4 separate regions of the Homo sapiens genome follow, and all the other regions are linked to region 1. Evidence: promoter capture Hi-C in human tissues and cell types (Jung and others, 2019). All regions are on one chromosome and are shown on one strand. The core of a region is centred on a gene start or on the middle of the fragment in contact, and the rest is flanking DNA. Distances in the headings are between cores, read along the strand shown. Region 1 holds the start of AZGP1 (alpha-2-glycoprotein 1, zinc-binding). Region 2 overlaps ZNF655 (zinc finger protein 655). Region 3 holds the start of PPP1R35 (protein phosphatase 1 regulatory subunit 35). Region 4 overlaps ZSCAN25 (zinc finger and SCAN domain containing 25).

Region 1 (5,738 bases), core at 677-3,176:
GAACGGTTTGAACAGAATTGTGGATGGCAACTCCAGCAGTTGCTGCTGTTGCAGTAACCGCAATTAGTCCTGCAATGATGGCAATAAGAGTAAAAATAAATCTCTTTGTTCTTTTGCGGATACCTTTAAGAACTTCATTGACTATGTGAATAGAGGGGGAAGACTCCCATGGACGATGTAAAGAAACTGGTATCCATACCCCCTCCCTAGCCCTTACCAAGAGAGTACTTGTAGTGGGATTAAAAGTAGCATCAATGCACGTGAACAGCTTACAGTTATCACATTCTATAGTTTGTGTATTGGGAATGATAATTATATTTCCAACCAACAGCATGTAAGGGGGTTTGACATAGCTCCTGATGGGTATCACCCGTTCAGATATGAGGGTGATGTTGAATGTGGGTGTTTTGGTATTAGTGTGAAGGAGTTGATAGGTAGTGTTCCATATCCTTATTCCTGTCATAGCTGCAGCTAATTTTCATAGTTGAGGATGTTCTGGGGTAACAAAGGGATGAATCATTTTTGGTCTAGGAGGAGTAATGCCTGCATCCATCCATTTAAATAGGTAAGGGGACACCCATTGTCTCAGCCTGTATGACTGCCATCCATCCTCTACATAATCTAACAAATAATTAAACTCTGAGCATGAGGTATTTTTGCTGGAGCAATCTTGCCAATAATGCCCTTTTGGAGCCCAATCAATAACAATACCTGCGGCTAGACTTTGGAGCACAACGGCCTTAGGAGCATTACAATTATTCCATAAAATTGAAGTCACTATAAAAGGTCCCTTTGTAGGTTTCTTTAACCAAAAGAGAGGCTGGGCACAGTTGCTCACACTAGTAAACCCAGCACTTTGGGAGACCGAGGCGGGCAGATCACGAGGTCAGGAGTTCAAAACCAGCTTGGCCAACATGGTGAAACCCCTGCCTCAGCTTCCTGAGTGCTGGGATTATAGGCATGTGCCACCACGCGCAGCTAATTCTTGTATTTTTTCAGTAGAGACGAGGTTTCATCATGTTGCCCAGGCTGGTCTCGAGTACCTGACCTCAACCTGAGGTGATCCAACCACCTCAGCCTCCCAAAGTGCTGGGATTACAAGCATGAGTCACCGCACCCGGGCCCCAGTCACTTTAGAATAGCATGTTGCTTTGTATTCGGAGGGTCTCTCTGCAAATAGCCCATCAACACTGAGCGTGCCTGGAAAGACCTGGTTTTCAAATAACTGGCTTCGTCTGTGTAAAACGAGTCTTGTTGTATGCATTAAAAATTATCTTGGCTGGGCGTGGTGGCTCACGCCTTTAATCCCAGCATTTTGGGAGGCTCGTTCTGTTGCCAGGGAGGCTGCAAAAGGAGGATGCGGCTATTTCTGCTTCCATCATGGAAGGCTGGGATTCCACAGGCACAGAAAGGAAGGAGGGAGAGATGGGAATGTGACTGTCCTCCAGACACAGCCTCTGGCAGGATCGGATGTGGGAGAGTGAGGGTCCCACCCCAGCTGGGGTCTACCCAGGTCCATGTCTTGGACATGTTGAGAGTTTTTCTGGAAGGCAGGGATACAGTGTGGTCCAAAAACACACAAATGCCCCTACTGGCCCAGGGGTTGTCACAATAGACTGGAAGGGTGACACATCCCAGGCGCTTGCCACCCATCACACGCACCTCCTACCCACTGGCATCCTTCCACCCCAGGCACACACAAAGCCTCAGTCCAGAGATCAACTCTGGACTCAGCTCTGAATTTGCATATCCTGTGTGTAGATTCATTCTTCATAACCTCTGCCCAGCCTAGCTTGTGTATCATTTTTTTTTCTCTATTAGGGGAGGAGCCCGTCCTGGCACTCCCATTGGCCTGTAGATTCACCTCCCCTGGGCAGGGCCCCAGGACCCAGGATAATATCTGTGCCTCCTGCCCAGAACCCTCCAAGCAGACACAATGGTAAGAATGGTGCCTGTCCTGCTGTCTCTGCTGCTGCTTCTGGGTCCTGCTGTCCCCCAGGAGAACCAAGATGGTGAGTGGGGAAAGCAAGGGATGGGTGCTGGAGAGGACTGGAAGGAGGTGAGGAACAGGACATGTGGCTGGGAGACAGGCTGGATGCAGCTGGGATACCCTGGCATACGGCAGGAATGGGTGCCCAAGGCTGTCAACTCCCTCAGCTCACACACTTCCAGGAGCATTCAGGGAGCCTCTGCGCTGGCCCGAAATAAGACCTTCAGGAATCTGAATCTAAAACCCCTAGTTTACAGTGAAAACAAAGACTCCAAAGACCAAGCGACCTGCTTGGGGTAGACAGTCAGGACGGAGTAGGAACCATATGCCTGGAGCTGCTTCTGCTCCTGTTCCTTCCCTCCTTCCGATGGCTGGGTACACCTGCCTGACGCTGAGGGAAAGAGAGAGCAGCCCCAAGGGGAAAGTGGGAAGGCAGGTTGGCTGGAGGGATGGTGCTAGAAGGAAACCCGTGCCCAAATCCCACACTCAGACACCACTGCAGTGGGTCTGGAAGGCGAGTGGCTGGAAGAGAAGAGAGTGGGAGCTCCGGGAGATCAAGAGTCACTCCTAGGATAAGGGAAGGAGGCTGTTTGTGGCATGAGAATGTGCAGGATAAAGACATGGAAGCGAATGGCTTCTCAGTTGTGTGAGTTTAAAATTCATGACATTTACAAATTGTCAGAAAAGGTGTTATATGTTTGTTATATAACAATCACTTTGGAATGTTAATCTGATTCTGTGCCAAAATCTGAATTACTCAGGGTTCTCCAGAGAAACAGAACTAATAGGTGGTACACATATACATATATATGTACGTACACATACATACATACACTGTATACACATGGATACACACACACATAGGAAGAGATTTACATATATGTATACAAAAGAGAGAGAGAGTAGAGATTTATTTTAAGAAATTGACTCACACTATTGGGAGGAGTAACAAGTCCTAAATCTTCAGAGCCGGCCAGCAGGCTGGAGACCCAGGGAAGAGTTGATGTCTTAGTCTTGATTCCAAGGGCAGACTGTAGGCAGAATTCTTTCCTCTTTAGGGGACATCTGAGGCTTTTTCTCTTAAGGCCTTCAACTGATTGGATGAAGCCCACCACTATGGAGAGTAATCCACTTTACTCAAGGTCTACTGATTTTTTTGTAAATTAAAAAAAAAACTGTGGGTGCATAGTATGTGTATATATTTATGGGGTACATGAGAGGTTTTGATTCAGGCATGCAATGTGAAATAATCACATCATCAAAAATGAGGTATCCATCCCTTCAAGCTTTTATCGTTTGTGTTACAGACAATCCAATTATACTTTTTTGGTTATTTTAGTTTTTAAAAGTATTTGATTATTTATTTATTTATTTATTTTTGAGACAGAGTCTCACTCTGTCACCCAGGCAGGAGTGCAGTGGCATGATCTCGGCTCACTGCAACCTCCGCCTCCCAGGTTCAAGCAATTTTCCTGCCTCAGTCTCCTGAGTAGCTAGGACTACAGGCACCTGCCACCACACCTGGCTAATTTTTTTGTATTTTTAGTAGAGACGGGTTTCATCATGTTGGCCAGGCTAGTCTTGATATCCTGACCTCGTGATCTGCCCGCCTTGGTCTCCCAAAGTGCCGGGATTACAGGTGTCAGCAACTGCGCCTGGCCTCTCTTTTGGTTATTTAAAAGTGTACAATTAAATTATGATTATTATTATTATTTTTGAGATGGATTCTTGTTCTGTCACCCAGGCTGGAGTGCAGTGGCGTGATCTTGGCTTACTGCAAACCTCCGCCTGTTGGGTTCAAGCAATTATCTTGCCTCGGGTGTACACTGCCACACACGGCTAACTTATGTATTTTTAATAGAGATAGGGTTTCACCATGTTGGCTAGACTGGTCTTGACCTCTTGACCTCAAGTGATCCACTCACTTCAGCCTCCCAGAGTGCTGGAATTACAGGCACGAGCCACCACACCTGGCCCCAGTTAAATTATTATTGACTATAGTCACCCTGTTGTGCTATCAAATAGTAGGTCTTATTCATTCTTCTTTTTTTTTTTTTTTTTGTGACAGAGTTGCCCAGGCTGGAATGCAGTGGTGCAATCTTGGCTCACTGCAACCTCTGCCTCCCGGGCTTAAGCGATTCTCCTGCCTCAGCCTTCTGAGTCGCTGGGACTACAGGTGTGTGCCACCACGCCCGGCTAATTTATGTATTTTTAGTAGAGATGGGGTTTCACCATGTTGGCCAGGCTGGTTTCGAACTCCTGACCTCAAGTGACCCACCTGCCTCAGCTTCCCAAAGTGTTGGAATTACAGGCATGAGCCACCACACCTGGCCCCAGTTAAATTATTATTCACTGGAGTCACTTTGTTGTGCTATCAAATAGTTTTCTAACTATTTTTTTTGTACCCATTAACCACCCTCCCAATTTCCCCCCAACCCTGCCACTACCCTTCCCAGCCTTTGGTAACCATCCTTCTACTCTCTATGTCCATGAATTCAATTGTAGGGTCTACTGATTTAAAGGCTAATCACATTTAGACACTCAGGAGCAAGAATAATTTTAGTAATTGAACTAGGATTCTGCCATATGACCTCCAACATCATTAGCACCTGTGTAAATTGTATCATAAAATAATTATGGAACTATTATGGAAATGTCCCTCTCTCCCAGATCCCACCTTGTACCAAAATGCAAGGTACAACCCCGGGAATTCTGAGCTCCATCCTAGTCTTACCCTGTGCTAATTCAGTCTGGGTCATTTCTTGAATTTTCTGGTAAATTCTCCTTTCTACCCTTTCTAACTATATGTATTTGTCAGGTTAAGCTAGAAGTGTTAATTTTTTTTTTTTTGAGATGGAGCCTTGCTTTGTCACCTAGGCTGAAGTGCAGTGGCATGATCTCAGCTCACTGCAAGCTCCGCCTCCCGGGTTCATGCCATTCTCCTGCCTCAGCCTCCTGAGTAGCTGGGACTACAGGCACCCGCCACCATGCTTGGCTAATTTTTTGAATTCTTAGTAGAGACGGGGTTTCACCATGTTAGCCAGGATGGTCTCGATCTCCTGACCTCGTGATCCACCCGCCTCGGCCCCCTAAAGTGCTGGGATTACAGGCGTGAGCCACTGAGCCCGGACGAAATGTTAATTTGTTTTTTTTGAGACGGAGTCTCACTCTGTCATCCAAGCTGGAGTGCAGTGGCATGATCTTGGCTTGTTGCAACCTCTGCCTCTCTGGTTCAAGTGATTTTCCTGCCTCAGCCTCCAGCATGACTGGGATTACAGGCCCGCACCACCATGCCCAGCTAATTTTTGTATTTTTTAATAGAGATGGGGTTTCACCATGTTGGCCAGGCTGGTCTTCAACTCCTGATCTCAAGTAATCTGCCTGCCTTGGCCTCCCAAAGTCCTGGGATTACAGGCATGAGCCACGGAGCCCAGCCTAGAAATGTTAATTTCTAACGCATGTCAGATTCCATGCACACTGGGCAAGGTTCCATTCCTCCATGGGGTGACTCAGGGATCCAGGCCAATTGCATATTGAGACTCTTTCATATTATCCTGTGGCCTTCAAAGTCGTCACCTCTAGGGATGAGAAACAAAAGGGACAAGCCAGCTGGTAGGGTCTTGGACAAGAAGAAAGACATCACTTCTGCTCACATTCTCTTTTGACAAAACTCAGTCACATGGTCCCAATATATCTTCGAGGTGGCTGAGTAATGTTATCTTCCTATGTGTCAAGCAGAGGAAATAAT
Region 2 (6,047 bases), core at 1,073-3,572, 400 kb after region 1:
GACAGAACGAGACTGTCTCAAAAAACAAACAAACAAACAAAAAGTTATTCCTAGTTCTACTGAAACCTCGAACTATTTAGTCTTATTTTATATACCAACAACTTCCCAATCAAATCCCCTTTAAGTCCCAAACATTCAGCTTTTGTTCCAGAGGTCTGTGGAAAAGCAAGCTTTGTTATCAATGCAAAGGAAAGTGATCCATTCTTGCTGTGAAGCAAGTTCCAGGGAGGAAAGGAGTTGCAGCCAGAGATGTGATTCCAACATTCCCAAACGCTTCTGTCTGAGACCTTCAGATTTTGTTTGAAACAAATTCTCAGAATACCAAACACACCTTTATTCAAGTGGAAGTACAAAAGCACATTCCTAAACCAAACGCATACATGTGATTTTTACATATTCTGCTTTTTAGGGATTACATAATCCTGTTTCAGTCACCATACGTGACTACTGGTCTCTATACATAAGGGTATACATGTTTGACAGGAAAAAACACATGCATTTTTCATTTGCTTTTACATTTAGATCAATTCATTTATATATCAATTTCATTTAGATTCCTACCTTGCCTTGATGAAATCCTACTCTTGCTGATGGCAAAGAAGTAAAATATAGTGGCAGAACTATCCTAGAGGTTAGCCATAGGAGGATTATAGAGTGAGCAACATATTTTTATATATTTGTTGAGGGTCCCTACTGAATATTATAACACTGAACTATGAAAGCCTCAATTGCTGGACTGACAACAAGAATTTTAAATAACATTTGTCTTACTCACAAAATGTTATAAAGCTTAAGATGGAAAAATACAAAATGTTTTGACATTACCTAAAGAATCATGAACTCTTGTTAGGTATATGATGGTGGCCCTGAACTTGAGCCAACATCTGTAATCACTTTTATCAGTCAAAAAGCCATGTTCTTTTATATAGCCTGTAGACTATTAAAATACAAAAATGTGGTAATGGATAAACAACTATACACAAAGCCCTCACACTTCAAATACTGTCCTGGATTGATGAGAGAGGAGCAGAATTCAAACATTTATCTGCAATCCTAATGGTTAAAATTTTACCAGGAACAGACCTGCCACTCTCTTGAAATACTGTCTCTGAGATTAACATACGAACAGCATCATCTCTGTTGGAAGGCTACATTCCCTTATGATGCTGATTTGTGTGTGTGTGTGTGTGTGTATGGTTTTTTGTTTTTGTTTTTTTGTGTTTTTTTGAGAGAGAGTCCTGCTCTGTCGCCCAGGCTGGAGTGCAGTGGTGCAATCTCGGCTCACTGCAACCTCCGCCTCCCAGGTTCAAGCAGTTCTCCTGCCTCAGCCTCCTGAGTAGCTGGGATTACAGGCGCGTGCCACCACACCCGGCTAACTTTTGTATTTTTAGTAGAGACGGGGTTTCACCATGTTGGCCAGGATGGTCTCGACTGCCTGACCTCGTGATCCATCCGCCTCAGCCTCCCAAAGTGCTGGGATTACAGGTGTGAGCCACCATGCCCGGCCTGTGTATCTTCTTTATGTTTACCCTACCAAGAGCAGACCTGAGCATTTTGCTGGCCGTAGAGGTATATAAAAGAACTCTAAGCTTAGGCATGCAGAATAGGCACTGGATGAATGTAGTGAGGCTATTAGGAGTCTTGTTGGCTCCCTGATGTCCTTATCATGTCTTCTTCGCAGACTGTGGATGCACACAAGACAGCTAAAACCTTGGGCATCATTTGAAAATGTTTGGCTGCCTGCTACAATCTCAGGAGAGAGAATCCTTCATACTTATATTGGACTGGATATATTGTCAATCAAATTCTTTTTTAAAAAAAGATGCTTCACTTTAGGAAATAAGACACCAGACCAGCAACATCAAGTAGGTATGGAATACTTGCTGGTGAAACACTTAAAACTAGGAAACTTCTAAATCTTCTAAAGGTGCTTAAGAGAATGGAGAAGTTAATCAACAGGAATCCAAGTGTTGTGGCTGTAAAGCAATACGACATAAGATCCCTAGTAAAGAGCAGGCCTAAGAGTTGGTTTTGGAAAGAACTTGGGCCAAGAACAGCAGAAAAAGCTAAATGAGCTACTTACGTCGATGTGTTTTAATACTGGTGCATTAGCAGTATCTTATGGAAGTTGTGAACACTAAGAACCAATTTCAAAAAATATAAAAATGTTTATAGGGCATATTAAAATAAAAACAGCTTAAATGAGTTCTATAAATAAAATAGGCCCAGCACAGTGACACACGCCTGTAACCCCAGCACTTTGGGAGGACAGGTGGGAGGATCGCTTGAGGCCAGGAGTTCAAGACCAGCCTGGGCAACAAAGCAAGACCCCATCTCTGTTCTTTTTAATATCAAAATTATAATAAAAAAGTAAAAATAAACGTACCTACTTAGAATACATATTAAATAAAGGAACTCCATGAGAAAATGTCACTGCATTTACCAAGTCAACCCTAGATTTTTGTGCAATGAAAAAGATTGGGACTATGTATTAACAATTTCATAAACAAATAATCAACAATTTTCTCTCCATTATTTCGATGTTGGGTAAAGCCTGAAATGTGGTGTCGAGTTTTTCCATTTGCGTTACATCAAATTCTTGTCTACTATGGATATTCTGATATGACAAAGACTAGTTAAACTCCTATTGAAAGATCTGCCATTTACTACACCCAAATAAGTTCTCTTAGGTATAAATTCTTTGATGTTGAATGAGCGTTGGGTTATGACTGAATCTCCTCACACACATACATGCTTATTACATTTATAATCTTTTTGCATGGCGTGAATTTGATACTAAACAAGGTAGTTTCTTTGACTGATGGCTTTTTCACATTCATTGCAGCAATGGAATTTTATTCCCATGTGAATTCTCCAAATGTGACTAAGGTATGAAAATACTAATAGCATGAAAAATTTGCCACATTCAATACATTTGTAAGATTTCTCACTGGTATAGATTTGCAGGAGTCGATTAAGAGTTTAACACTAATACCTTTTCTTCATTCGTCACATTCAGAGGGTTTCTCTCTGGTGTGAATTATCTGATGCTGAGCAATGGCTGAGCTATGACTGAAGGCTTTACCACATGCAGTACATACATGATTTCTCCCTGGTGTGAACTCTCAGATGCTGAATGAAGCCTGAATTTGATAAATATCTTCCCATCTTCATTACATTCATGAGTTCTCTTTGGTATGAATGCTCTGATGTTGAACTAGATGTGCTCTCTGACTGGAGTTCTTTTCCCATACATCACAATCAAAGGCTTTCTGTCTGGTGAGGACTTCTTGTTGCAGGATAAGATCTGAGCTATGACTGAAACTGCCCTCATACTCATTACATTCATACGATTTCTCTTTCCTATGCATTTTGTGATGCTGAATAAGGCATGAGGTTTGACTGAAAGCTTTTCCACATTCATTACATTCATGTGCTTTCTCTCCTGTGTGAATTCTTTGATGCTGAATAAGATGTGAATTCAATCTGAAGTCTTTTCCACATTCACTACACGTATAGGGCTTTTCTCTGAAATGAATTCCTTGTTGTTTAATATAGGCCAACCCATATTCATCATACTCATAGGCTTTCTCTTCATGATGGACCCTCTGATGTTCAAGTAGGTATGAAGTATGGCAGAAGTCACTGCCACATACAGTACACTTACAGGGCATCTCTTTGTGAATTTTCTGATGTTGAGTAAGGTGGACACTACGACTGAAGACTCTTTCACAACTGCTACATTTGTAAGATTTGGCTCTGGTGTGAATTTTCTTATGCTGAATTATGCCTGAGCTTGGACTACAGGATTTATCAGACGCTTCACAGGATTTATCAGATGCTTCACATTTGTAAGGTTTTTCTCTAGTGTGTATTCTTTTATGTCGACTAAGACTTGAGCTCTGACTGAAAGACTTTTCACATTCTTTACATTTGTAGGGCTTCTCTCTAGTATGGATTCTCTGATGTCTAGTAAGGGCTGAGCTCTGATGGAAAATTTTCCCACATACATCACATTTATAGGATTTCTCAGTGTTAGGGATGCTCTCCCATTTATTAAGGTGGGAGAGATCCATTAAGCTTTCCTTACATTCACTACTCTGAAAATCCTCTGTTAGATTTAAGTGTTCATGTTTACCAGAGGCTGAATTCTGGTTGAAGCTCATGTCATACTTATCATTGTCATCGGTATTCTGTATTCTAAGAACTCTCTGATCTGCATCAATAGTAGAGTCCAGACTGAAGCTTTTTTCGGGTTCATGACATTCATTGTTCTTCTCACTGGTGAAGGTTTCCTTGCTGATTGTTATTTGCCTAAACTCTCTCTCCAGGTACAGAAATTTCCTTAGAATTTCCTGAAGTCTTTCTAATCTGTCCTCAGACTTATACACTTCTCTAGTCTCAGGAACTTGGGTAATATCGTGTTTGAGTCTTCCTACTCTCACTTTGTATGAATGCACTTCTTCCGAAATTTTCTGCTTAGGAATCAACAGCTTGTTCTCTTCTCTGGTCTCTCCATCTGATACAATATATAAATAGAAAATGCAAATGTAATCTGTACCCTGTGCTTAGGAAAAGAAAACTCAGATGAGAAAACTAAACAATGTAGTATCTACAAGGACAAGAAAAGTTTATTTACTCTGAAAAACAGGCACAAAATCTCAACAGCAGAAGTTAAGGGCATAAACAGGAGCAGTGAGGTAAAACAGCGGACATGTTCAGCAGAGTAAGGAAATAATAGGGAAACAGCTGAAAGAATTTTAGATAAGCAACTTGATTGGGGTCTAGTACGACATGTGCACGGATACTAAACAAATGGAAAGGGTCAACCTAACTGAAGGGAAAAGGAAGGAACTCTCCATGCTAGGACACACACAGAGCTCTTCATTCTGAGTGCCAAAGCAGCTACAACTTGGCTCAACAATTGAACTTTACTTCCCTACTAATTCTATCTGATTCTGCCTTACTCACCTGAGCAGTCATCTCTTAAGACTTCTCTAGTCTTAGTTTCCAGATCAAAGACCTGTAGATCCTGTTCCAGCTGGGAGATCCCATCAGGCTTGGAAATTGGAAATCCTGCTCATAGAGAAGGAAATGGGATGTGGCAATGTATCCCCAGGTCCTACATCTGCCACTTTTTCTTTTAACTAATGATTAAGAGAGACAGAAGGTCGATTCTGAGAAGACATTAATTAGGAAGGTCTGGAGAGTGAAGAGGGCAAAGATCTACAAGGAGCTCAGATTTGTGCTCTAGAGGGATGTGTGTTAAGGGGCAAGTTGATGACTTGGGAGCAGAAGGATTCATTTAAATATTATTCAGACAACAGAATGTGTGCATGGGTTTGTCTTCACAGAAGTTATCATTATCACTCTCCATCTGTTACCTAAAGATTAATCTTCGGATTAGATCTGGTCTACAAGTATCAAAATGGAGGTCATCAAAATGTAATTCTGCTGGACTGGAGAAAGGTGAAACTCAAGCACCTGCTGCATGGTTAGCTAACCTGTAGCAAGAGAATCAGTGAAAACTGAATAAATATTCTAAGGACCAATCTCAAGAAACAATTTGTTTCAGTACACATAAGAAAACAAAGAGTAATATGACACATTCTTACCCATTAGGAGTGTAGCATTTATTCAACAAACATTTATGAAGTGCCTCCTCTATGCAAAGTATGCAGGGGATAAGAGGCCAAGAAGGTCCCTTCCCTCAAGGACCTCACACTCTACACAGAGACAGCTCTAAACAACTAACTACAATAAAATATAGAGAGGGAAGTGCAATCAGTGCATCTTCACATAAAACAGTCTTTCTATGGCTTGCATAATGCAATGCTTGGATATAAATCTCTTTTAAAGCTAAAGCAACAGGCAGTCTGCTTCCAAGGAGACAGAATTTTAATACTATTAGTATCAAAGGGCAGTTTTTAAATGTGTCCAGCCCAGAAAGCTTCTAATAGCACACATACAAGGTCTGGCTCAAGCCCCTCATCTCCAAAAACCTTTCTCTCCATTTACTGAATGTGTACAAAATTTATTAGTTGTTC
Region 3 (5,605 bases), core at 1,043-3,542, 460 kb before region 1:
ATCCACCCACCCGGGCTTCCCAAAGTGCTGGGATTACAGGTGTAAGCCACTGTGCCTGGCCTGATTTTTTAAAACCTTTTAATATAATCATATAAAATGCATACATTTCCAAAGTCAAATATACAAAACAAAGTATATTTGGAGGAATAAGACTGTTTGTCTTTCATTCTATTCTCTCCCTCCTATGTCGCTATTAAAAATTTTTAATTTATACTCCCAGTTTAAAAATTTATATTTGTACCTCGCTATTTCTTTTCACAATTGAACAATGAGATAATAGACATACTTGCTTGTTCTTAACTTTAGCAGGAAAGCCTCTAGTGTTCCACCATTGAGATCTTCCTTTAAAATCCTTTTTGTAAAATTTGGGCTGTGCTATCCATTCTATCTGATGTTCCACAGCACTTCCTGGAAAGATAAAATGAACAATGTGGAAACTCATAATGAAAAGTGGTACACAAACGTGCCTGTTGACTGAGCATCAATCAATTCCAGGAAAGCTTCAAGATTCCTGAACCTTTTTGAAGCAGTTTGGAGAATTAAAAAAAAAAAAAAAAAAAGAGTAAGAAAGGATTCCTGAACCCACTTCCACTTACATTCTACACAAAAAATGAAAGGAGACTTGCAGAATTGAGGGGACCTGCCCCAAGTAACCTAAGGAGCAGGTGGGAGCTCTCATTTCCTTTTCTGCAGTTCAGGGGTCTTCTGCTATGTGGAAAAGCTCAGGGCCCAGGATAAGTCCACTGACATTAAAAATTAAAAAAACTGAATTCAAGGCTGGGTGCAGTGGCTACTGCCTGTAATCATAGCACTTTGGGAGGCCAAGGCAGCTGAACCACTTGAGGTCAGGAGTTCGAGGCCAACACGGTGAAACCCTGTCTCTACTAAAAATACAAAAAAAATTAGCCGGGTGTGGTGGTAGGCGCCTGTAATCCCACCTACTTGGGAGGCTAAGGTGGGAGAATTGCTTGAACACTGGAGGCAGACGTTGCAGTGAGCTGAGATTGTGCCACAGTCTCCAGCCTGGGCACCAGAGCGAGACTCCGTCTCAAAAAACAAAATAAAACATTGAACCCACAATACAGAGTTTTTTGTTTGTTTCTGAGACAGGGTCTTGCTCTGTCGCCCAGGCTAGAGCGCAGTGGTATGATCAGAGCTCATTGCAGCCTGGAACTCCTGGACTCAAGTGATCCTCCCGCCTCAGCCTTCCCAGTAGCTGGGACTACAGGTGAGCACCACCACCACGCCCGGCTAAAATTAAATTCTTTTGGTAGAGATTGGGAATGGTGGTGTGGAGTCTCGGTATGTTGCCCATGCTTGTCTCCAGCTCAGGGTTTCAAGACATCTTCCCGCCTTGGCCTCCCAGAGTTGGAATTGCAGGTATGCGCTACCGCACCCGTGCCAGATATCTACTTTTTATACAAATTAATATTTCAGGGAACTCTCGAAGGTAAAAGTAGTCACAAAAAGCTGCAAGAGTTGCTGTGTCCCAGAAGGGAGTCCGGGATGGGGTCGGCGACCCTCGCCCGCACTCATACAGGCCAACTCCGGTCCGAGTTTGGAGGCAACGGAACACCGGAAATGCTGTGCAGGTCTGAGTGGGAGGTCAGGGCACACTGGACCGTTACCTTAAAGCTGCCCCATTTATGGCCAGGTGCGGTGGCTCATGCCTGTAATCCCAGCACTTTGGGAGGCCGAGGTGGGCGGATCACGAGGTCAGGAGTTCGAGACCAGCCTGACCAACATGGTGAAACCGTCTCTACTAAAAATACAAAAATTAGCCGGGCGTGATGGCGCGCGCCTGTAATCCCAGCTACTCAGGAGGCTGAGGCAGGAGAATCTCTTGAACCTGGGAGGCGGAGGTTGCAGTGAGCCGAAATCGCGCCCCTGCACTCCAGCCTGGGCTACAGAGAGAGGCTCAGTCTCAAAAAAAAAAAAAAATGCTGCCCCATTTGGCGCCCCAGAATGAGGACTGACACACTGGGCAATGGGCATCGCAGCGCTAGCAGGACTAAGATTCCTCTGGGTAACTCAGCCATAGCAGAGTTTTCAAGAGGAGGAGTGGCCCTGATGAGGACCCGTAGGGCTTCAACCGACCCCAGCTCAAAAACACTTCGGCTTGGGGGCGGTGCCAAGGCTGTGAGTGCTTCCAACACTTCGGCTTGGGGGCGGTGCCAAGGCTGTGAGTGCGGAAGCCTGCCGGAAACCTGGGGACGGAGCGAGGGAAATGACGCCTGGGAGCGACAACAGGGTGGGTGGGGCTGCTGACTCCGCCCCCGAAGGAAAGGGTTAACGGTTTCCGGTAGCGGCGTCTAGGAGGGGCGGGGGAAAGGAGGCGGCAGCCAGGCTGTGTCCCCTGACCGTTGGAGCGTCTGCGACCCCCGCATCCCCGCACCCTCAAGGCACCTCCAAAGATGATGATGGGTTGTGGGGAGTCAGAGCTGAAGTCGGCGGACGGGGAAGAAGCCGCGGCGGTCCCGGGGCCACCCCCGGAGCCCCAAGTCCCGCAACTCCGAGCCCCAGTGCCCGAGCCCGGCCTGGACTTGAGCCTGAGCCCGCGGCCCGACAGCCCTCAGCCGCGGCACGGCAGCCCCGGGCGGCGGAAGGGGCGGGCGGAGCGGCGGGGCGCGGCTCGGCAGCGGCGGCAGGTGAGCGGGGGAGGCTGGCCCCCGGCCCGCGACGGCCTCGCGCCCACCTGGTCACTGCCCTGCCCTCTGCTCCCAGGTCCGCTTCCGCCTGACGCCGCCCTCCCCGGTGCGGTCCGAGCCGCAGCCTGCGGTGCCGCAGGAGCTGGAGATGCCCGTGCTGAAGAGCAGCCTGGCCTTGGGCCTGGAGCTGCGGGCCGCAGCCGGGAGCCACTTTGATGCTGCGAAGGCCGTGGAGGAACAGCTGAGAAAGTCGTTCCAGATCCGCTGCGGCCTGGAGGAGAGCGTGTCCGAGGGTGAGGGGGGCGGGCGGCCGGCCGCGTGCGGGAGTCGGGGTGAGGCGCGCCACTCACCTCCGTCCCCGCTGCGCTCTCAGGGCTGAACGTGCCGCGCTCCAAGCGGCTCTTCCGGGACCTGGTGAGCCTGCAGGTGCCGGAGGAACAGGTTCTGAATGCCGCGCTCAGGGAGAAATTGGCTCTCCTGCCGCCACAGGCTCGAGCCCCGCACCCAAAGGTGATGGGGTCTGGGCGTGGGGCTTCCTCCATGTACCCCCTTACCCGGATCCTTCCTCCCAAAGTGTAACCTTGCTTTGGGCCCAACCTCCCAACAGGAGCCACCTGGGCCTGGGCCAGACATGACCATCTTGTGTGACCCAGAAACGCTATTTTATGAATCTCCACACCTGACCCTGGACGGTCTGCCCCCTCTCCGACTTCAACTCCGGCCCCGCCCTTCAGAGGACACCTTCCTCATGCACCGGACACTGAGGCGATGGGAAGCGTAGACCCCAAAGATCCCTGGAGGGCTAGTTCGTATTTTTGTGTTAAACTATTTGTTAGAATAAAGTAATTTTGCTAATAAATGGGACTCTTCTTGGAGGCCTAAAATGGGGTTAAAAGCTCTCTAGGGGGTTATCCACTTAGCCTCAGGTTGGAAGCTGCCTGGAAGTCGGGTTTGGGGGCCTTTTTGGAACTTGGTAGAGTCATGGCAAGTGGAAAACACTGTCCACGTTAGAGGTTTACTTAGATACCCCTCCGTTCACAACCTTACCTGCCTCTCCCTGACTTCAGCCACAGCTACTGCCTGTTTTTGATCAGGTAGCGATTGTTCTCTGCATCACTTATTCTGATCTCTCAAAATGCAGAGCCCAGCCTATCACACTTCACGAAAACCTTCCATGATTACCTGTCTCAAGGAGCTTGCAAGCCAGCTGTCTGCACTGAGTTACTGAAATTATCTCCTTGCTTTTTACCTTTAAGAGCCTTGCCCATCCTGTTTACACCTGACCTGAATACTCAGTATGTTCGAAGTTCCAGTAACACCTAACAAGCCCCCGAAGAGCTTCATGTTGTTAATTGCCTGTAAGTCTGATTCCACAGCACAAAAAAGGTGCTGGCCCGTCCCTGGGCATTTGATCCAAAGCACTTTTGCCTACCTCCACCGTCAACTCTTTCCAAGTTAGCCTTCTGGCCAGGTGCAGTGGCTCGCGCCTGTAATCCCAGCACTTTAGAAGGCCGAGGCGGGTGGATCACCTGAGGTCAGGAGTTTGAAACCAGCCTGGCCAACATGGCGAAACCCCCGTGTCTACTAAAAATACAAAAAATTAGCTGGGCATGGTGGCGCGTGCCTGTAATCCCAGCTACTTGGGAGGGTGAGGCAGGAGAATCACTTGAACCTGGGAGGCGGATATTGCGGTAAGCCGAGATCACACCACTGTACTCCAGCCTGACGACAGAACAAATCTCCATCTCAGAAAAACAAAAACCAAAAAGTTAGCCTTCTGCCCAAAACGTCTACGGGGTTTTTCTGGGGAGGGAAGGCAGACTCCAAGTTCCACACCAAAATTTGCATTACACACCTTTTCCTGACTAGGCTTCTGTGTACTTGCGTGTGGACTTGACTAGTGTTCAACAATCAGCTCAACCACTGAAAAACGTGTCTTCCTTGAGATGGAAGATAAACAGCACAGGTTCTGGTGGGAGGCACCACCCATCCCCCACCAGCTAGACAGTACCGAGACAGGTGTGGGGGCCACTGCCCTAGACATCAAGTTTATTGTGCTGTTCTCACATTGAAAACCCAACCCCCTCTCCCACTGGGGGAGGGCAAAGGGAAGGATTTTCACAGTACCTGCGTGCCTCCCTGCCAGTCTTCCCCGTCTAACCCTCAGTCCCTCTATCCATGGTCCACTGAAATGCAGCTAGGGACAAGAGCTAGGTACAATGGCCGAGGAGAAATGGGAATCTCTCTCCTTGGGAGAATAGGAGGAAAGGGCTAGAGAATTTGATATCCTCCCACCTCCCATGCCCTAAGAGAACAGAGGTCAGCAAACAGTCCATGCCATCCAGCCTGGGAGGCTGGGGGAGAGGAAGATGATGGTGACTCCAGCACAGCCAGCCTTGCTGCGCAGGTGCCAGAGGCATAGGGAGGAGGCTGAGGCAGCGACGGAAGAAAAGCTTTCTTTGCAGATCCAAGAAAGGAAACTATTTTTGGAGTCAGAAAGGAAAGACCTTGGGACACTTTCCTCTTCCCCCAGGTCCTTATGAGCAGCGAGGGCAGCCTCTTCACACTTTCTGTTTAGGGGGCCACTTAGTGGCTGGGGGATCGGGCCTTGTGGAACAGGTACACAGGACGCTGGAAGCCTGAGGGGAGAGAGAGTGATCAGAAGGGGTTGGCAGCACCTCAAGAATCCCCATGGGGGTCTGCACTCTTTCAGCCAGGACCAGCCTCCCTGACAAAATAAACCAGCCTTACCTTTAGAGGTGTTGTGGGGTGTGGCCACAAGCTCATAGCTGGAGAAGCCCACGTCTGGGGATGTCAGGTAGGAACTGAACTGCTCTGGCTTCAATTGGATTCGGTAGTAGTTCTTGTAGATCGTTTCCTAAGGAGAGAGGCAAGGGACCACTTCAGCACGCTGCCGCCTCCCCTGGCCAAGGGCGATGCCCACCTCGGGGCCTTTT
Region 4 (6,035 bases), core at 1,084-3,583, 340 kb after region 1:
ATAATGGAGCTTTTACCAAAGACGTATGAGAAGTGTAAGACTATAAAAAAAATGAACTATTTAAAGTAAAACTCTTGACAAACATTTTACTTAAAGCAGATGCAAAAGGTTATTCTCATGTAGGCTCCTGTTGGTGCAGAGGGATTTTTGATTTCAAGATGCAACTAAAGTACGAAGTTCTCAGTTTCACTTTAGTAGAAATAGTTCTAGAAATAAGGCTAATAAACACATCTAAGAACACTGGTTGCTTTCTAAAATTCCCAAAGTTCCACCATAAATGTAATCCTTAGTGTTTTAAATGATTGCATTTTAAGGTATATAAATATGGGTTATCCAACATCAATGCTATAGTAACATCCTGAAACAAAACAAGCACAAAGGTATAAATGCCTAAACCGGAGGAAACTTGAAACCCTCATGTTAAATCTTTTTTTTTTTTTTTTTTTTTTTTGAGATGGAGTCTCGCTCTGTTGCCCAGGCTGGAGTGCAGTGGCGCGATCTCCACTCACTGCAAGCTCTGCCTCCCGGGTTCACGCCATTCTCCTGCCTCAGCCTCCCAAGTAGTTGGGACTACAGGGGCCCGCCACCACGCCCGGCTAATTTTTTGTATTTTTAGCAGACACGGGGTTTCACCATGTTATCCAGGATGGTCTCGATCTCCTGACCTCGTGATCCGCCCGCCTCAGCCTCCCAAAGTGCTGGGATTACAGGCATGAGCCACCGCGCCCAGCCCATGTTATATCTTCAATGTAGTATTTCTAACTTGTGAAGACAGATTGGTAGGCAGCCACTTTTTTGTGTCTTAAAATAACTGGGAGCATAGTTAAAATTTTATACATCAAGTGATTGCTATTATTGAATGTTGCAGGTGAGATGTGGTTATTTTTAGTTTATTTGAAATGTCTGACTGGAAATGGGGGAGGGGGAAGGAAATATTTGAAATTTGGAAAACTCTAAACCTTTTGGTAAGAAATTGTAATTTTCACTTAAAATTTTCTTTAAGGATATAAGAGGTTTATAATTGATGTAGTTAAATTGAACAATAATCATTGGTGACTGGAGCAGGTAATTATAGCCTGCAGAAAAAAATTATAATCTAAGAATTGAAAAAATAAGATCCTGAAGTTGTTTAATTGCATCAGTTTCTGTATTTATGTGAATTTATAAACTGCAGTATGTTTTGAATGAGGTTAATCTTGTTTAATATAAGTAAATGAGTCTGTAGACTATGATCGCCCCAAACTAAAAAGTACAGTACCTGAAACTGTGTTCTTTATGGTTGTAGTGTTAGTAAAGCACTAATATGCAGAAAATAAAGGAATTACACAGTGAAAAAAAAAAAAACCAACCAGGACAGCTGCCAACAGAGAATTATCTGGCACAAAATGTTAACAGTGCAGGGGTTGAGAAACCCTGGCAAAGTTTAAGAGCAAGTACCTGCTACAGAAACATGTTGCTACCTGTCATTTTCCCTGTCTCAGAAGTGGATTAAGTCAATCTGTACTGTACAGAGGGAGGGGACTTGAAACCAGCTTATTATTATTATTATTACTATTGAGACAGAGTCTCGCTCTGTCACCCAGGCTGGAGTGCAGTGGCATGATCTCGGCTCACTGCAACCTCCGCCCCCCGGGTTCAAGTGATTCTCCTGCCTCAGGCGCCTGCCACCACGCTTGGCTAATTTTGTTTTGTTTTGTTTTTGAGACGGAGTCTCACTCTGTCCCCCAGGCTGCAGTGCAGTGGTGCGATCTCGGCTCACTGCAAGCTCCGCCTCCCGGGTTCACACCATTCTCCTGCCTCAGGCTCCCAAGTAGCTAGGACTACAGGTGCCCACCACCATGCCCAGCTAATTTTGTTTTTTTATATATTTTTAGTAGAGATGGGGTTTCACTGTGTTAACCAGGATGGTCTCAATCTCCTGACCTTGTGATCCACCTGCCTCGGACTCCCAAAGTGCTGGGATTACAGGCGTGAGCCACCGCGCCTGGCCAAATTTTTGCATTTTTAATAAAGACAAGGTCTCACCATGTTGTCCAGGCTGGTCTCGAACTCCTGGCTTCAGGTGATCCGCCCGCCTCGGCCTCCCAAAGAGCTGGGATTACAGGCGTGAGCCACCGCACCTGGCTGAAACCAGCTTATTTTTTAAGAAACAAAGGTTCTCCTTGCCTCTCAGCTGGGATAAAACAGGTACTGAAAGTATTTTAAGCATAATCAGCCTGCAGACAACACCCATAGCACACACTATGACATGGACCAAACTTTCTTGATGAAATATTTCCCCAGGACAGACCTTAGGCAGTTACCTGGTTCTACCACCACCCAGGGGAGAAAACAGAGTTTCTCTTGCAAAGGACAACAGCCTCCCTCATTACCCAGCAGCACGGCACATGCAGCCAGACACTGAAGGTGTACAGCATCATCACAATGTGAGGCAACCACAGATGCCTTGTCATACAAAAGGAGGCCCATCTATGAGTTGACCAAATACCCGTTTGACCTGGAGAGTCCCGGTTTACACCACTGTCCCAGCATAATAAATAGCACCCACTTTCACTCTCAAAAGGGGCAGGAAATACGGAACATTTGCCTGGAACATCTTGTCATGCCAGAAAGCAAAGAAGCTGTCAATGAGAATTAGGGTTATGTCAAAAGGATTCAGGAGCCAAGGTCCAGGGGCCTCCACTGGTCAAAGGTGAAATAATTTGAGCATCAAATTATAACTCCAGCAGACTGATCAATACCAAGTATGTTTAAATCCATGAGTGCAGGCCAGGTGCAGTGGCCCACACCTGTAATCTCAATACTTTGCAAGGCCAAGGAAGGGGTAGCACCTTAGCCTGGCAGTTTGAGGCTGCAGTGAACTACAATTGCACCACTGCATTCCAGCCTGGGTGACAGAGCAAGACTCTGTCTCAAAAAAACCAATAAAAGCAAAAAGCTATGAATGCATTGATTTCTACAGACTTGACTGCCTTTACAGGAAGCAAAAAGTAACTAGCTCATTATTCTGAAAACAGGCAAATAAAGAGGAGGATCAAGCATTTTCTTGCCTTCCCTGTATGAACTATATCTAAGGGTAACCTAAGTTAATGAAGGGAAATTTCTTACAATATTCCAACTACTAAATGATGAAGCATTTACAGAACTAACGAAAGAAGCAGATCTAGGCTTCTAAAATCATATGAAGAGAAACAGGGCATGTCACAATCTATAATGTGTTCTTGCCAAAATGTGAAATATGAATCTGATTACACCACTAAACACTTCTACATTTTTAGATAATACAGAAGGCAGGGAAATATGTTAAATCACGCCATGGGTATGCAAACAGAAAATGCAGAATGATTAGCTGGGCATGGTGGCACATGCCTGTAATCCCAGCTACTTGGGAGGCTGAGGCAGGAGAATCGCTTGAACCCGGGACAGGGAGGTTGCGGTGAGCTGAGACTGTGCCACTGCACTCCAGCCTGGGCAACAGAGCGAGACTCCAGCTCAAAAAAAAAAAAAACAACAGAAAATGCAGAATGTAAAAAACTCTCCAGGATAAATGATCGAGTTTTTTAAAATGAATAAATCTCAAGAAGAAAAGGATAAGTACTACAGATTATAAGCCTTAAGAGACAAAGCAACAAATTATATTATATTGAAAAATTAGGTGGGTTCTTAAAATTCACTGGATATTTTGACATTAAGGAACTGTTTTGTTTTGAGACAGGGTCTTGCTCTGTCTCCCAGGCTGGAGTGCAATGGCACAATCAGGGCTCACTGCAACCTCAACCTCTTGGGGTCAAGTGATGCCCAGCCTCAGCCTCCTGAATAGCTGGGACCACAGGCATGCACCACCCATGCCCAGTTAATATTTGTTTGTAGATGAGGTCTCACTATGTTGCTCAGGCTGGTCTCGAACTCCTCTCAAGCAATCCCACCTTGGCCTCCCAAAGTGGTGGGATCACAGGTGTAAGCCACCACACCCAGCCGCCCTTACCTTTTACAGGTACACACTGAAATGGTTATAAACAACACTTGGGATACACTTCGAAACTTCAGTGGGGGAGGAAGACGGGGAGGAAGGAGTGGACAGAGATGAAACAAGATTGATTATGAGTTTATAATAAAGTCAAATGATAAATACATAAGGATTTATTTATATAGGTTTGAAATTATCTATTATAAAAAAATTTCTAAAGAATAGAAAAATACAGAAAACAAAATATTTCTTAACATTTGAATAGATATGAAAAATCAGACTACCACAATCCCATGGGAAAAACCCCCTACTTAGAGGCTTTTCTGAGACACTGTCCTAAGCTCTTGGCCCCACAGGAGATAGGGAAGAGGCCAGATAGGAAAGTCAGCAAGGCCCAGCTCCTTCTGAAGCTTAAGATATGCCAACTTGCTGAAACCCAGAGGAATGCTGGCTGTGTATGACAAAAGAGCATCTGTGATTCAGGTAATGACAAGCAGCCCCCCGAGGCCTCCCCAGTCCCCACCTGCCTTTGGAAAACCACCCTCTGGGGAAGGCCACACTCAGGCCAGAAGCCTCCCACTGAGTCTGCCTGGCTGTCAGCCCTGCCTAGCTGCTCTGATAATTACGGGGGAAAAAAAGCTGATTTTGCATGTGGACCTCAGTATTACAGAGGAGCAGCAGCAGCCCCGTGTGGACATCTCAGATACATTTACGACCCAGTCAGTGCAGCCTCGTGGGCACAGCTAATGAGCCAGGAAGACCAAGGAGCGTCATTTGCTAAGCCAAAATTAGACACCATGCTGCCTAACAAGAACAGGTGATAAAACCACGTTTCAAAGTGGGCTGAGTAATACAGCTTTGTGTTAGTCATTACCATTTACCTTATTTACAATGGAAAATGAAAAAAAAAAATCTCAGTAAAAGAATCTGGTATTAAGAGGCATCAGAAGACAAACCACATTTTGCAATTATAGGACACTATCAACAAAGGACAAACTCACTCACTCAGCCAGGGTTCAAAGGCACAGCACAATGACACAGCAGTCAGTCCACGCTAGTTATGCAGCTTCCAGAACTTTAAACAGAAATGAAACCCTTAAGTGATGGCACAATAAGGAAGCTTCAACAGTTTACAAATATTGCATCTTCTCATTTTTAAAGAAATGTATTTTTTTTTAATGCCTACAAATATCTTTATTTTTCCTGACTTGGCACTCATGCAAAACAGGTCGCTACCAGCTCATCATCCCCAGTGGGTGTCCAGGACCCCTAGTGCCTTGGATGACAAGGGTCTGGAGGGCAGAGACCATTTAGTAACAAGAGGTAGGTGACAAATGCATTTCAGGGCAAGATGCTGACAAAGCAATGAATACAGGCCCAGAGGATTTGCAGGAATATCCACGGGTTCTGAAGATCAGGTACATCCACGAGACATAAGCTCTACGAGGTCAACAGCTTCTCCCCCTATTTTATTCATGGATGTGTCTCAAGCACCCAGAAGAGTTCCTGACATGTTTGTTACAGGGCCTCAATAAATACTTGGGAAATGGGTCCAATGAGAATGGGGTGAAATTAATTTTATGAACTATAAAGTGCCATCAAATATAGGGCATTAATACTAGAGTTCATCTTTCAGACTCATTTTAATTATAACAGTTCTTTCTAGAGAACTGTTTTTTAAAATACTCTGATGTTTATTCAGTGATCAATAGCAAAATACTAACTTCCTAATAGTTGGTGTGTTGACAGTTGTTATAGTGCAAGGAATAATGGACGGGGAAGTTTTACAGATGAGGATAGAATGTTATAGCCTGACACAGATGAGGCTCCAAATAATGTAAAATTCACACAGTTGCCTGGGAGCAGATCCCAGCTGGGGAGGGAAGATCCAGCACGGGGCAGGAGGGCAGGAGTGGTCATGGGAAGATGTTCTCACGGGCACACAGCACAGATACCCTGAGAATGCCTCGGGTCATGGGCTGTCGCATGCATCCCCAACGCACAACCCCCAGAGGCATCACGTCTAGTCTCTCATTCACCACGGCATTCCCACGGCCAGGTGCTCAGA

What was found. The method cuts DNA at HindIII sites, captures the fragments that hold promoters and counts their contacts. A contact is called where the count stands out against the background at its distance.
Region 2: a fragment that was not itself captured here is called in contact with the fragment with the promoter of AZGP1 in region 1 in 4 of the 25 tissues and cell types used here (adrenal gland, dorsolateral prefrontal cortex, lymphoblastoid cells and 1 more).
Region 3: the fragment with the promoter of PPP1R35 here is called in contact with the fragment with the promoter of AZGP1 in region 1 in 1 of the 25 tissues and cell types used here (heart left ventricle).
Region 4: a contact is called between a fragment that was not itself captured here and the fragment with the promoter of AZGP1 in region 1, in 2 of the 25 tissues and cell types used here (heart left ventricle and pancreas).

What each region holds. Positions count from the first base shown.
Region 1 is chr7:99,972,219-99,977,956 of GRCh38, reverse strand. It overlaps AZGP1 (alpha-2-glycoprotein 1, zinc-binding), which reads left to right and starts at 1,926. Exons shown (of 4, transcript NM_001185.4): 1 at 1,926-2,012. The coding sequence starts at 1,937. The HindIII fragment of the contact is 25,198 bases long and covers 1-5,738 here.
Region 2 is chr7:99,570,717-99,576,763 of GRCh38, reverse strand. It overlaps ZNF655 (zinc finger protein 655), which reads right to left. Exons shown (of 3, transcript NM_138494.3): 3 at 311-4,519. The coding sequence ends at 3,180. Among named protein-coding and RNA genes, the nearest start is that of ZNF655, 15 kb to the right of the region's middle. The HindIII fragment of the contact is 3,683 bases long and covers 481-4,163 here.
Region 3 is chr7:100,433,184-100,438,788 of GRCh38, reverse strand. It overlaps PPP1R35 (protein phosphatase 1 regulatory subunit 35), which reads left to right and starts at 2,292. Exons shown (of 4, transcript NM_145030.4): 1 at 2,292-2,648; 2 at 2,725-2,941; 3 at 3,022-3,158; 4 at 3,256-3,507. The coding sequence starts at 2,415. The coding sequence ends at 3,429. PPP1R35-AS1 (PPP1R35 antisense RNA 1) reads right to left here and starts at 2,121. Exons shown (of 3, transcript NR_187540.1): 1 at 1,629-2,121; 2 at 287-408. MEPCE (methylphosphate capping enzyme) reads right to left here. Exons shown (of 4, transcript NM_019606.6): 3 at 5,400-5,526; 4 at 4,671-5,287. The coding sequence ends at 5,235. RefSeq lists enhancers at 1,199-1,701, 1,853-2,032, 1,702-2,205 and a silencer at 2,493-2,972. The HindIII fragment of the contact is 5,329 bases long and covers 1-2,801 here.
Region 4 is chr7:99,630,463-99,636,497 of GRCh38, reverse strand. ZSCAN25 (zinc finger and SCAN domain containing 25) reads right to left here. Exons shown (of 8, transcript NM_145115.3): 8 at 4,090-6,035. It also overlaps the pseudogene LOC442603. Among named protein-coding and RNA genes, the nearest start is that of ZSCAN25, 17 kb to the right of the region's middle. RefSeq lists an enhancer at 6,015-6,035. The HindIII fragment of the contact is 6,968 bases long and covers 1-5,817 here.